Regions from separate parts of the Homo sapiens genome. Here region 1 is linked to region 2. Evidence: promoter capture Hi-C in human tissues and cell types (Jung and others, 2019). All regions are on one chromosome and are shown on one strand. The core of a region is centred on a gene start or on the middle of the fragment in contact, and the rest is flanking DNA. Distances in the headings are between cores, read along the strand shown. Region 1 holds the start of NAGS (N-acetylglutamate synthase). Region 2 holds the start of MPP3 (MAGUK p55 scaffold protein 3).

The links. Contacts are between HindIII fragments. The study calls those that stand out against the background at their distance.
Region 1: a contact is called between the fragment with the promoter of NAGS here and a fragment that was not itself captured in region 2, in 3 of the 25 tissues and cell types used here (bladder, lymphoblastoid cells and mesenchymal stem cells).

The regions. Positions count from the first base shown.
Region 1 is chr17:44,002,408-44,006,202 of GRCh38, forward strand. It overlaps NAGS (N-acetylglutamate synthase), which reads left to right and starts at 2,215. Exons shown (of 7, transcript NM_153006.3): 1 at 2,215-2,682; 2 at 3,230-3,504; 3 at 3,617-3,795. The coding sequence starts at 2,257. It also overlaps a transcript of PYY not described here. RefSeq lists an enhancer at 3,138-3,795. The HindIII fragment of the contact is 21,260 bases long and covers 1-3,795 here.
Region 2 is chr17:43,827,476-43,833,374 of GRCh38, forward strand. It overlaps MPP3 (MAGUK p55 scaffold protein 3), which reads right to left and starts at 5,671. Exons shown (of 20, transcript NM_001932.6): 1 at 5,626-5,671; 2 at 5,286-5,344; 3 at 4,407-4,468; 4 at 4,084-4,202; 5 at 3,769-3,846; 6 at 2,552-2,632; 7 at 2,179-2,316; 8 at 276-357. The coding sequence starts at 4,431. RefSeq lists silencers at 5,631-5,680, 5,701-5,800. The HindIII fragment of the contact is 3,501 bases long and covers 799-4,299 here.

The DNA.
Region 1 (3,795 bases), core at 965-3,464, 170 kb after region 2:
GGTGCTTAGGGTCTGGCCATGCCACTGACGAGCTGTGTGACCTTGGCCAGGTCACCTCCCCTCTACAACAACAGAGGGTCCTCTTTCCCCCTCTACAACAACAGAGGGTCTGACTGGATCAGAGTGTACCCAAGGGCAGGATGTGTGCAGCTGACAGTGCCCAGCACATGGACACAGTATGAAGTAACATTGAATCATATCCTGTGAATGTTTTCAAGCCTTTCAACTCCTTTCCAAAACTTGCTTAACAGCATGGATCTGGAGCAGAACTGCTTCCTAGACCAGCTCCACGGCTTGTGAGCTGAGTGACCCTGATCCTCACATATTTCTGTACCTCCATTTTCTCATCTGTAAAATGGGAATAATGATAATAGCTATCCTGGAGTCACTGAGAGGATTAAATGAATGACTATTTGTGAAGTCCTTTGCATAGTGCCTAGCATTCGACATGTGTTAGCTATTCCTCTACCACACAGAAGGCTTTGCTTGGTGCTAGGGTATCTTTAACACATGGCACCTGCTAACCTTCCATGTTACCAAGAAAGCAGGCAAGCTATGCAGATGGAATATAATGGAATGTAATAACATTGTTTTCCTCTCACTTGATTCTTTTTTAATTTTGATTTTAATTTTAATTTTAATTTTTTTGAGACAGGGTCTCATTCTGTCGCCCAGACGGGAGTGCAGTGGCACAGTCTCAGTTCACCGCAATCTCCTCCTCCCAGGCTCAAGTGATTCTCTGGCCTCCTGAGTAGCTGGGATTACAGAAACATGCCACTACTGCCTGGCTAATTTTTGTATTTTTAGTAGAGATGGGGTTTCACCATGTTGGCCAGGCTGGTCTTGAACTTCTGACCTCAAATGACCCACCCGCCTCCTCACTTGATTCTTAAGGCTTATGGCAAGTGATACTGGCCTAGTTACAGACCTAACATGGATAAACTTTAAGTTTAAAAAGGTTAAAGAGGGCCGGGCGTGGTGGCTCACGCCTGTAATCCCAGCACTTTGGGAGGCTGAGGCAGGTGGATCACGAGGTCAGGAGTTTGAGACAATCCTGGCCAACATGGTGAAACCCTGTCTCTACTAAAAATACAAAGATTAGCCGGGTGTGATGGTGTCTGCCTGTAATCCCTGCTACTCAGGAGGCTGAGGCAGGAGAATCGCTTGAACCCAGAAGGCGGGGATTACAGTGAGCCGAGATCGCAACACTGCACTCCAGCCTGGGCAATAGGGTGGGACTCCATCTCAAACAAACAAACAAACAAAAAAAAAAAAAAAAAAAAGGGTTACAGAGGTCGAGTGAAGTAGCTCACACCTGTAATCCCAGCACCTTGGGAGGCAGAAGTGGGAGGACTGCTTGAGCTCAGGAGTTCACGAACAGTCTGGGCAACATGGTGAACACCCGTCTTCAAAAAAAATAATTTTTTTTTAAATCAGCTGGGCATGGTGGTGTGCATTTGTGGTCCCAGCTACTAGGGAGACTGAGGCAGGAGGATCATTTGAACCTGGGAGGTGGAGGCTGCAGTGAGCTATGATTGCACCACTGTACTGCAGCCTGGGCAACAACAGAGTGAGACCCTATCTCAAAAACCAAAATAAAAAACTCTATTTTATTTTATTTTTACCAGATGTGATATTCGATAAAGAAAAGCATTAACACTAAAGTATTATAAGTTTTGAGGGGTGTTTTGAGGATATCACAGAATTCCTCAAGCTGGTACCCAGTGACTGGAGTTTGGCAAACCCTGGTAACCTCATGGTCATTCATTAGGATCTTTTTTGAGCTCAGGCAACAGGACAGACAAGGCCAGCACCACCCGCCCCCGCCCTCCCACTGCCCCCCTTCTTCTACTCTTTCCAGCGCCCTCCTTCCAGCCCCCTGCCCAGCCCTGTGCTCAAAGCCACCTACAGTCCCTTCTTCTCTGGTCAGAATGCCAATCATCCAAGGCCCTGCAGACTCCCAAAGCCGCCCCTGGAACCTACCTTGGCAGCAGATTAAAGACAACCCGCCACATTTAGTCTCGGCCCCATGACCGATAGTGGGTTCAGTTCCTCCAGGGGCGGGGGAGCCTAGTGGCCCCGCCCCCTGACTCATGGCCTGACCCTCCTCAAACGCACCCAGAGGAGACTCCTGGTCCCCTGTCCGGACCCCGCCCCGACCAGGTCCAGCCCCGCCCAACGGCAAGTTAAGAGCCCCCCAGTGCCAGACGCTCCAGACAGACTGCCACTCTTGGGGGGCAAGAGTTGGTTGTCGTCATGGCGACGGCGCTGATGGCTGTGGTTCTGCGGGCAGCTGCTGTAGCCCCGAGGCTGAGAGGCCGGGGAGGCACTGGGGGCGCCCGAAGGCTGAGCTGTGGCGCGCGGCGGCGGGCGGCGAGGGGCACCAGCCCGGGGCGCCGGCTCAGCACCGCCTGGTCGCAGCCCCAGCCCCCGCCCGAGGAGTACGCGGGCGCGGACGACGTCTCCCAGTCGCCCGTCGCCGAGGAGCCGTCGTGGGTGCCGAGTCCCAGGCCCCCGGTGCCCCACGAGTCCCCAGAGCCTCCTTCGGGCCGCTCGCTGGTGCAGCGGGACATCCAGGCCTTCCTGAACCAGTGCGGGGCCAGCCCTGGGGAGGCGCGCCACTGGCTCACGCAGTTCCAGACCTGCCATCACTCCGCGGACAAGCCCTTCGCCGTCATCGAGGTGAGCGGAGCCCGGCGTGGGCCGTGACGCAGCGAGGGGATGGGGTTGTGCGGCCACCTGTCCTCAGGCATGGCAGGATACGCTGCGGGCTCTGCGCAGCGGAAGCGGGAAGGAGCCCGGCAGGGCCCAGACCAGCGCCGCCGGGAATGGGAGAGGCCGTAAGCTCCTCCGGAAGCCTCCCGCCCAGCCCGAGTGAGGATCCTGGGGGACCCCACCCGCCAGGTGTGATGCTCTGAAGAAGGCCCCCAACATGGGCGCAGTTAGGGGTTCAGAAGGACCTGGACAGGAGCCGCTTGCACTGCCCCTCCCCCAAAGATGTCCCGGAGTCCAAGGTCGGAGGGAGGAGGGCGGGAGGTACCCCAGCGTGAGACAAGGGAGTGGCAAGACCCAACGGGGCAAAGGGCGGAGCAGGTGGGCACTGGTGGCCAGAACTGGGTCCTGACAGCTTCTGGAAGGGTAGGGTCACCGAGACGGCCCTGCAGGCCAGGCTGTGGGAGCCAGCGGCTCAGGTCCGTGTCACGCTCCTTGAAAGCCCACTCCTCCGCAGGTGGACGAGGAGGTGCTCAAGTGCCAGCAGGGCGTATCCAGTCTGGCCTTTGCCCTGGCCTTCTTGCAGCGCATGGACATGAAGCCGCTGGTGGTCCTGGGGCTGCCGGCCCCTACGGCTCCCTCGGGCTGTCTTTCCTTCTGGGAGGCCAAGGCGCAGCTGGCCAAGAGCTGCAAGGTGCTGGTAGACGCGCTTCGACACAACGCCGCCGCTGCTGTGCCATTTTTTGGCGGCGGGTCTGTGCTACGCGCTGCCGAGCCGGCTCCCCATGCCAGGTGAGTGCCCGCCCTGCCCGCCCAGGCGTCCTCAGAGCGTGCTACTCTGCCCGCCCTGCCCCGTCCGGCAGGCCTGGAGGGGGCCCTCTCGAGCACCACGTCTGGCCCACAGCTACGGCGGCATCGTCTCGGTGGAGACAGACCTGCTGCAGTGGTGCCTGGAGTCGGGCAGCATCCCCATCCTGTGCCCCATCGGGGAGACGGCCGCGCGCCGCTCCGTGCTTCTCGACTCCCTGGAGGTGACCGCGTCGCTGGCCAAGGCGCTGCGGCCCACCAAAATCATCTTCCTCA
Region 2 (5,899 bases), core at 1,299-3,798:
AACTCCTGGCTTCAAGTGATCCGCCTGCCTCGGCCTCTTAAAGTGCTGGGATTACAGGTGTGCACCACCATGCCCAGCTGGCCTATATTTTCTATTAAAATTTCTACTGACTTGGGAAGGAGATGAGAATTCCAGCCACAACCCCAGAAAGCAAAGCAAATCCCAAACAGGTGACCTGATAGGAGGGAGGTAAGGGGACCTATTAGCAAAGGTGGAGGGCTCTGGAACAATGGCCATGATCGGGGCTGGGCCAGCTTTGCACTGCCGCCACTCACCGCTCCTGTCTGCTGCGCCTCCTCGCATGATCCTGGCCACCACAACAGCCCCTGAGTGCTCGTCCCGCCGGATGGTGGCACCCTGAACCCGAGACAGAAGAGACAGGTTCTTAAGCAGCAGCTCCAAACCTCAGACCCCTACTCTCTGGACCCAACACAGCCTCCCCAGTCCCTCCCTCTGACAGTCCAGAGAGATCAGTGGGGACCTTCCCAATGCTGAAGACAAAACAAAACCAACATCCCCCATTAATATAGCCCTGCACTGTACAGTTTACAAGGCACAATAATGCTGCAACATTTTAGATGAGGGACTGGGGCTCAGAGAAGTTAAATATCCTCAAGGTCACCCAGCTGGTAAAGGGGAAAGCTTTTTGTGATGCCAAATCCAGTAAGTTCTCCATCACATCTCTCTCATATCACAGTTCCTACCACTTGCAAAGACATTTAATAATGAGGATGACACGTGCCAGCTAATTCTCACCCTGCCTCTACCCAATCACAGGGTTACCGGGCCTTCTGCTGCTGCTGAGGGAAACCAATTATGCACCCCAGCCAGGGCTTCGGGACCAGGACTTGGCCCATGAAGCACAGCAGAGATGACACTTAGGATGAGAAAGGCACTAACGAGCCCTCGATTTCCTGCACCACACAGGCCGGACTGCAGCAGGACGGCAGAAAGCTTAAGAGCTAAGCTCTAGGGCTGGACAGCCTTGGGTGTGAACACAGTTCTGCCGTTTACAAAAAGCATGTGGACTTAACAAGGAAATCTCTTATCCTCTCCAAGCCTGTTTCCTGTGAGATGTGGGACAGCATTTAACTCACAGTGTTGTTGCAAGGATTCCACTCAAGGCACTTAGTACACAGTAAGCACTCAACATATGTTAACCACTTATTAGTGGCTGTAACTGCAAACACATTTGCACACTTATTGTTAACATCATCTGTGCCATCTATTTGAAGTACGTAAGATAATTATTGCTAGAAAGAGAGGCCATCAGCTAAGAACCTCAGGACTTCTAGCCCCCCAGAACTGAGAACTTTCCAGCATCGCTATCCATCATTTATTCAGCTCTGAACCGCCAGCACCCAATACAGAGCCTGGATAGGAGGGCTCACAATGTGTTTGCTAAATCAATGGATGGCCACTCCATTTTACAAGTGAGGAAACAGAGGCAGAGGAGAGATCCTCGTCTGTTTGCAGAAGAGGCTCGTCGGAGGTCATTTGGGGAAAGTTGGAAATAGAGAATGCCAGCTGTGGGATCCTCTGGAGCCAATCTCAATTCTCTGGGCTTCCACCACTTCTGAGCATCTCATAAACAACGCTGTCCCTTTGCTCGGTAAATCAATGCTGAACCAGGACCAAAGTGATAGCAGTCTGTCTGCTGGGGAGAGGAATGCCCTGTGCTTCCTCAACATTCAGAGCAGGCATTGTCACACGTTTTCTATAAGGGGCCACATGTAAATATTTGAGGCCAGCCACACAGTCTCTGTCACAACGACTCAACTCTGCCATCGCACTATAAAGGCAGCCACAGCCAATCTGTAAGTGAATGGGCCTGGTTGTGCTCCAAAAAAGCTTTATTTTAAAAAATAAGCTGTGGGCTGGTTTTGGCCCTTGGGCTGTAGTTTGTCCATTTCTGGCTTAAAGCATGATCAGGGTCACCCTGTACAATTGTGCAGGTTATTAACTACACAAAGGGTGTTGGCCACAGTTGAGAGGGGCTGTATCCACCTAGAGAAAGGGGTGCCCTGCACACAGAGGCACCACAGGGATGAGCAGCAGCGCAGGCAAAGCTGCCGTCACTCACTCTGAAGACTTCGGGGAGGATCTTGTCCAGTGTTCTGGGTGGGGGTGAGAGGCAGGGGAAGAGTGGGTTAGAGAGGGGCAGGCAGCAGCACCTACCAGGGGTTCCTTGTTCTTCACCAAGCGGACGATCTTCACCGATTCCTCATCAAAATCCTCATCGATATTGTCAGGCAGAGGCGGGAGAACGGGGTCAAAATTCTTCTGGGCAACCGTGTCATGTACCATGAGCACAGCCTGCCGGGAAAGCCAGAGAAAAGGAAGGCTGGCCCGCCGCTCACAGGGTCAGCAGGCCGCAGCTGGCCGGTGGTATGGAGGGTGGCAGACGCCATGCCAGAGAGACAACTGCCCAGACACTAGTGCTGAGGATCGCTCCCTCAGTCTCCACTCCTCAGCCTCATTAGGAGAGCTCCCTCCGCCCCCATCCCAGGAGACCCAGAGGCATGGCTGGGCAGGGGCTCTGTGTGACTACCCTCAGGTGCGGGGTGGACAGCAGCTGGAGCAGCTCCCTCTCATCACTGTGCACGGAGGCGGCCTGCAACTCCTCCATCACCTGCAGAGAATGAGACAGGCGCCACTGATGGCTAGAGGTGCCCCTGCCCCATATCTGCTGGGTCCTTCCTCTTTGGAAGGGCCCACCCAGCTGCAGCCCCCAGGGGCACACCAGACCCTCAACCACCCGACGACGATGATCCTGGGAACATCACACCAGGGGTCAGGAGCAGCTCTATGGGGCCATCCTCCAAGGAGCCACCGTTTTAAGCCCTACGTGCTTTCTGCTTTATGTGGATCTTCTCACTGAACCCTCGCAACCAACTTGATGCAGAGGGTCTTGTTACTTTGCCATTTTACAGATGAGAATCCTGAGACTCAAAGAGATTAAACATTTTGCCCGAAGTCACAGAGCTCATATACAGCACAGCTAGGATTTGAACCTGGGCTTATCTGGCTCTCAGATGCTATTTTATGAATGAGGAAATGGGAGCTCAGAGAGGTTGAGTGGCCTACTTAACATCACAGAGCTGGTGGGACAGGCAGCGCTGAGCCTGGGAGCCAGGCAATCTAATGTGCCCCTAATCACATTCCACAGTGGAGAAGGGCCCAGGGCTCTGCACCCACAAGCTGCACTCATCCCTCCCCAGGCCATCTCCTGGGGTTAGGTGAGTTTATTCAGGAACTGATCTTAGTAATCAACCAGAATGGGTTTTCCCCAACCACGCAACATAGACGACTAGGTCCACAAGAAATTAAGAAGCGTTCCTTTAAAAAATGAGAAGCCTGAGCCAGTATGCGGGGACACACTGTAGGTCCCTTGACTTCAGGAAAGCACAGACATAATGTCTTATTGACCTATTCAAATCACCAGTCCTCAGGGCAGTTTGGGAACTGCTGAGCCAATCCAATGCTCTCATTTACAGCAGAGGAAGCAGACTTGCTAAAGAACACACAGTAAGTGGGCAGCTCCATGTCACAGTGTCTCCCAGCCCAGTCCAAGGCTCACGGGTTCCTCCCTACCTTTCGGGGAACCCAGAGAGAGGAAGAGAAGGAGGAGGACAAGGGAAGAAAACACCTCTTCACCTTTGGGCTCCTGATTCCCGGTGTCCCCACACTAAGCAAGCGAGGCAAGATGAAGGAGCCCTACAGGGTGGGGAGTGGGGCAGACACTGTAAGGAGAAACCTGGGGCTTACGTCCTCAGCGAGGGCCACAGCGCTGTGCAGAACTGGGGTTGGACTTTGCCTTTCATAATAGCGAAGCTTCTCATGAATCTGCAAAGACAGAGTATTTCAGATGCACCCTGGACACCACACATCCCACCCACGGCTGTGGGGACATTTGGGGCAGCAGACTGGGCCACTGACAGGGCACCATAAGAGAAAGTCCTGTGTAGTGGGCAAGTGAAGGCCTTCCTGGGGCAGGGAGATGACTAGGATGACCTCAGACGGCCACAGACAGCTAGAAAGACCTCTAGACACCCTTCCACGCAGGATGACGTGGGACTTCACCTTCATTAAGTAACTGAGGCTTTTTTCACTGAAAACATCCCTCAGGAAGCCCATCTCCTCCTTGTGGTTGGAGTCAGGTCTGAGCTGGGAGGTCAGCAGGGCCAGGGTTTCATGCAAACCTGGGGAGAGGTGAGAAAAACAAAGGATAGCAAACGCAGTGGGTGCTCCCTGCCCCCGAGGAGCCCGAGTGGGGCCTCAAACAGCACTTCAGTCCTGCCGTGAGGACATTCTCTCCCCAGGCTCTCACTGCCAGGGCCTGGAGGCTGCCAGGCAGGCTCTTGTCTTCAGGACTGTGGCAGGTCCAGCCGGGGGGAGGTACTTACCAGAGTCCTCCGATAGCACTGGCATGCTGGCGTTGTCACCTCCCGACCTCTCCCTGCAGATTCTGGGAGAAGGGGGTGGAGGTGGGTATTGAAGCTCCATCAAGCATATTTATTGAACAAACTGACTACACATCTACTGTGTTCTCTGAGACCAGGCTGTGGACAGAGAGGATGGGAACAAATAACTCTGCTTACTTTTTTCAGAGAGGAAGGAAATAAAGCTAAGATGTGCTGAGTGTCCTCGATGTGCCAAGCATTGTGTGGGGTGATTTCTATGATAAACTTTTTGTCTGCACAAAGTCCTGAGAAATGACTGCGAATGTTCCCATTTTATTGATGAAGAAACAGCGGCGTGGAAGCTTTCAGTAAGCTGTGGGTCAAAATCCATATTCAAGCAGGCTCTTCCAGGCTGGCCTTGGAGGTGCCAAGTGACCCTGCCTGACAGTGTCAGCTGTCCTCCGCAGCGCGCCCCCTCCACTGCAACCTTCTAAGAGCCCTGGCTCAAGTCTCCTGCTGGGACACACCTTCCACAACTACCTGGCTGGGCCTACAAGCCCCCTGTCCCCGACCCCCCAAGACCCAACCCAAAGGGAGCCTCCAGACTGGAGTGCAGAGAGGAGGGGGGGAAATGGGAGTCGGGCTTCCACTATGCAGGAGGGGGGACCCCTATCTCATGAGGCCCTCCAAAGGTGCTCTGCAGCACGTGGACCTCAAAAAGTCCTCCTTAGGAAGAGGAGAAGGAGAGTCATGACTGATTCATTCCGCAAACATGGAGCCAGCCCGCAGCGCCGAGCCCCGGTGCCACTAAGAGGCGTAAGAGCGGCCCCGGGCCCTCCAGCCTCCGCCCCGCCCCGCCCCGCCACGCCACGCCGGACTCACCCTCGGGCTGCTCCCCGCAGGAGGCCGAGCACCGACTCCCGCTCGCTCTCCGAAGGAACCTGTGGGAGAACAAGGAGCGCACTGGGCGCAGGAGCAGCGACCCCGGGGGACCTCGGAGGGCGGTCCCGGAGGACGCGGAGCAGCAGGGAGCGGGGGGCGCGCGGCGGGGCGGGCGCGGGAAGAGGGAGGCGGGGGCCGAGGGGCGGGGTTGAGACTCCCGCGGTGGGCTCGGTGGGCCGCGAGGCTGTCCGGGAGCACGGGAGGAGGGTCTCGGCCCGGCCTCCCGCCCCTCCCGCCGCGGCGCCCAGCTCCCTCGTCCGTTCCCCTCGCGGCCTCCTACCTCGTCGCGCCGGGATGTGTGCTCCGCGAACGGGAGCCGCGCGAGTGCCCAGAGCCTGGGCCGCCGCTGGCTCCGCCTTCCCGGACCCCTCCCTGCGGCTGCCGCGCCGGGCGGGGGTGGCGGAGCCTGAGGAGGCGCGGCGCGGGGAGGAGGCGCGGCGCGGGGAGGAGGCGGGGGAGGAGCGGAGGCCGCCCTCCGCGTCTGGCACCGCCGCACCCTCCGGGCCGGGCTCCGCTAGCCGGCGTCGTACCCGCTCCCGCTCTCCCGCTCCCTG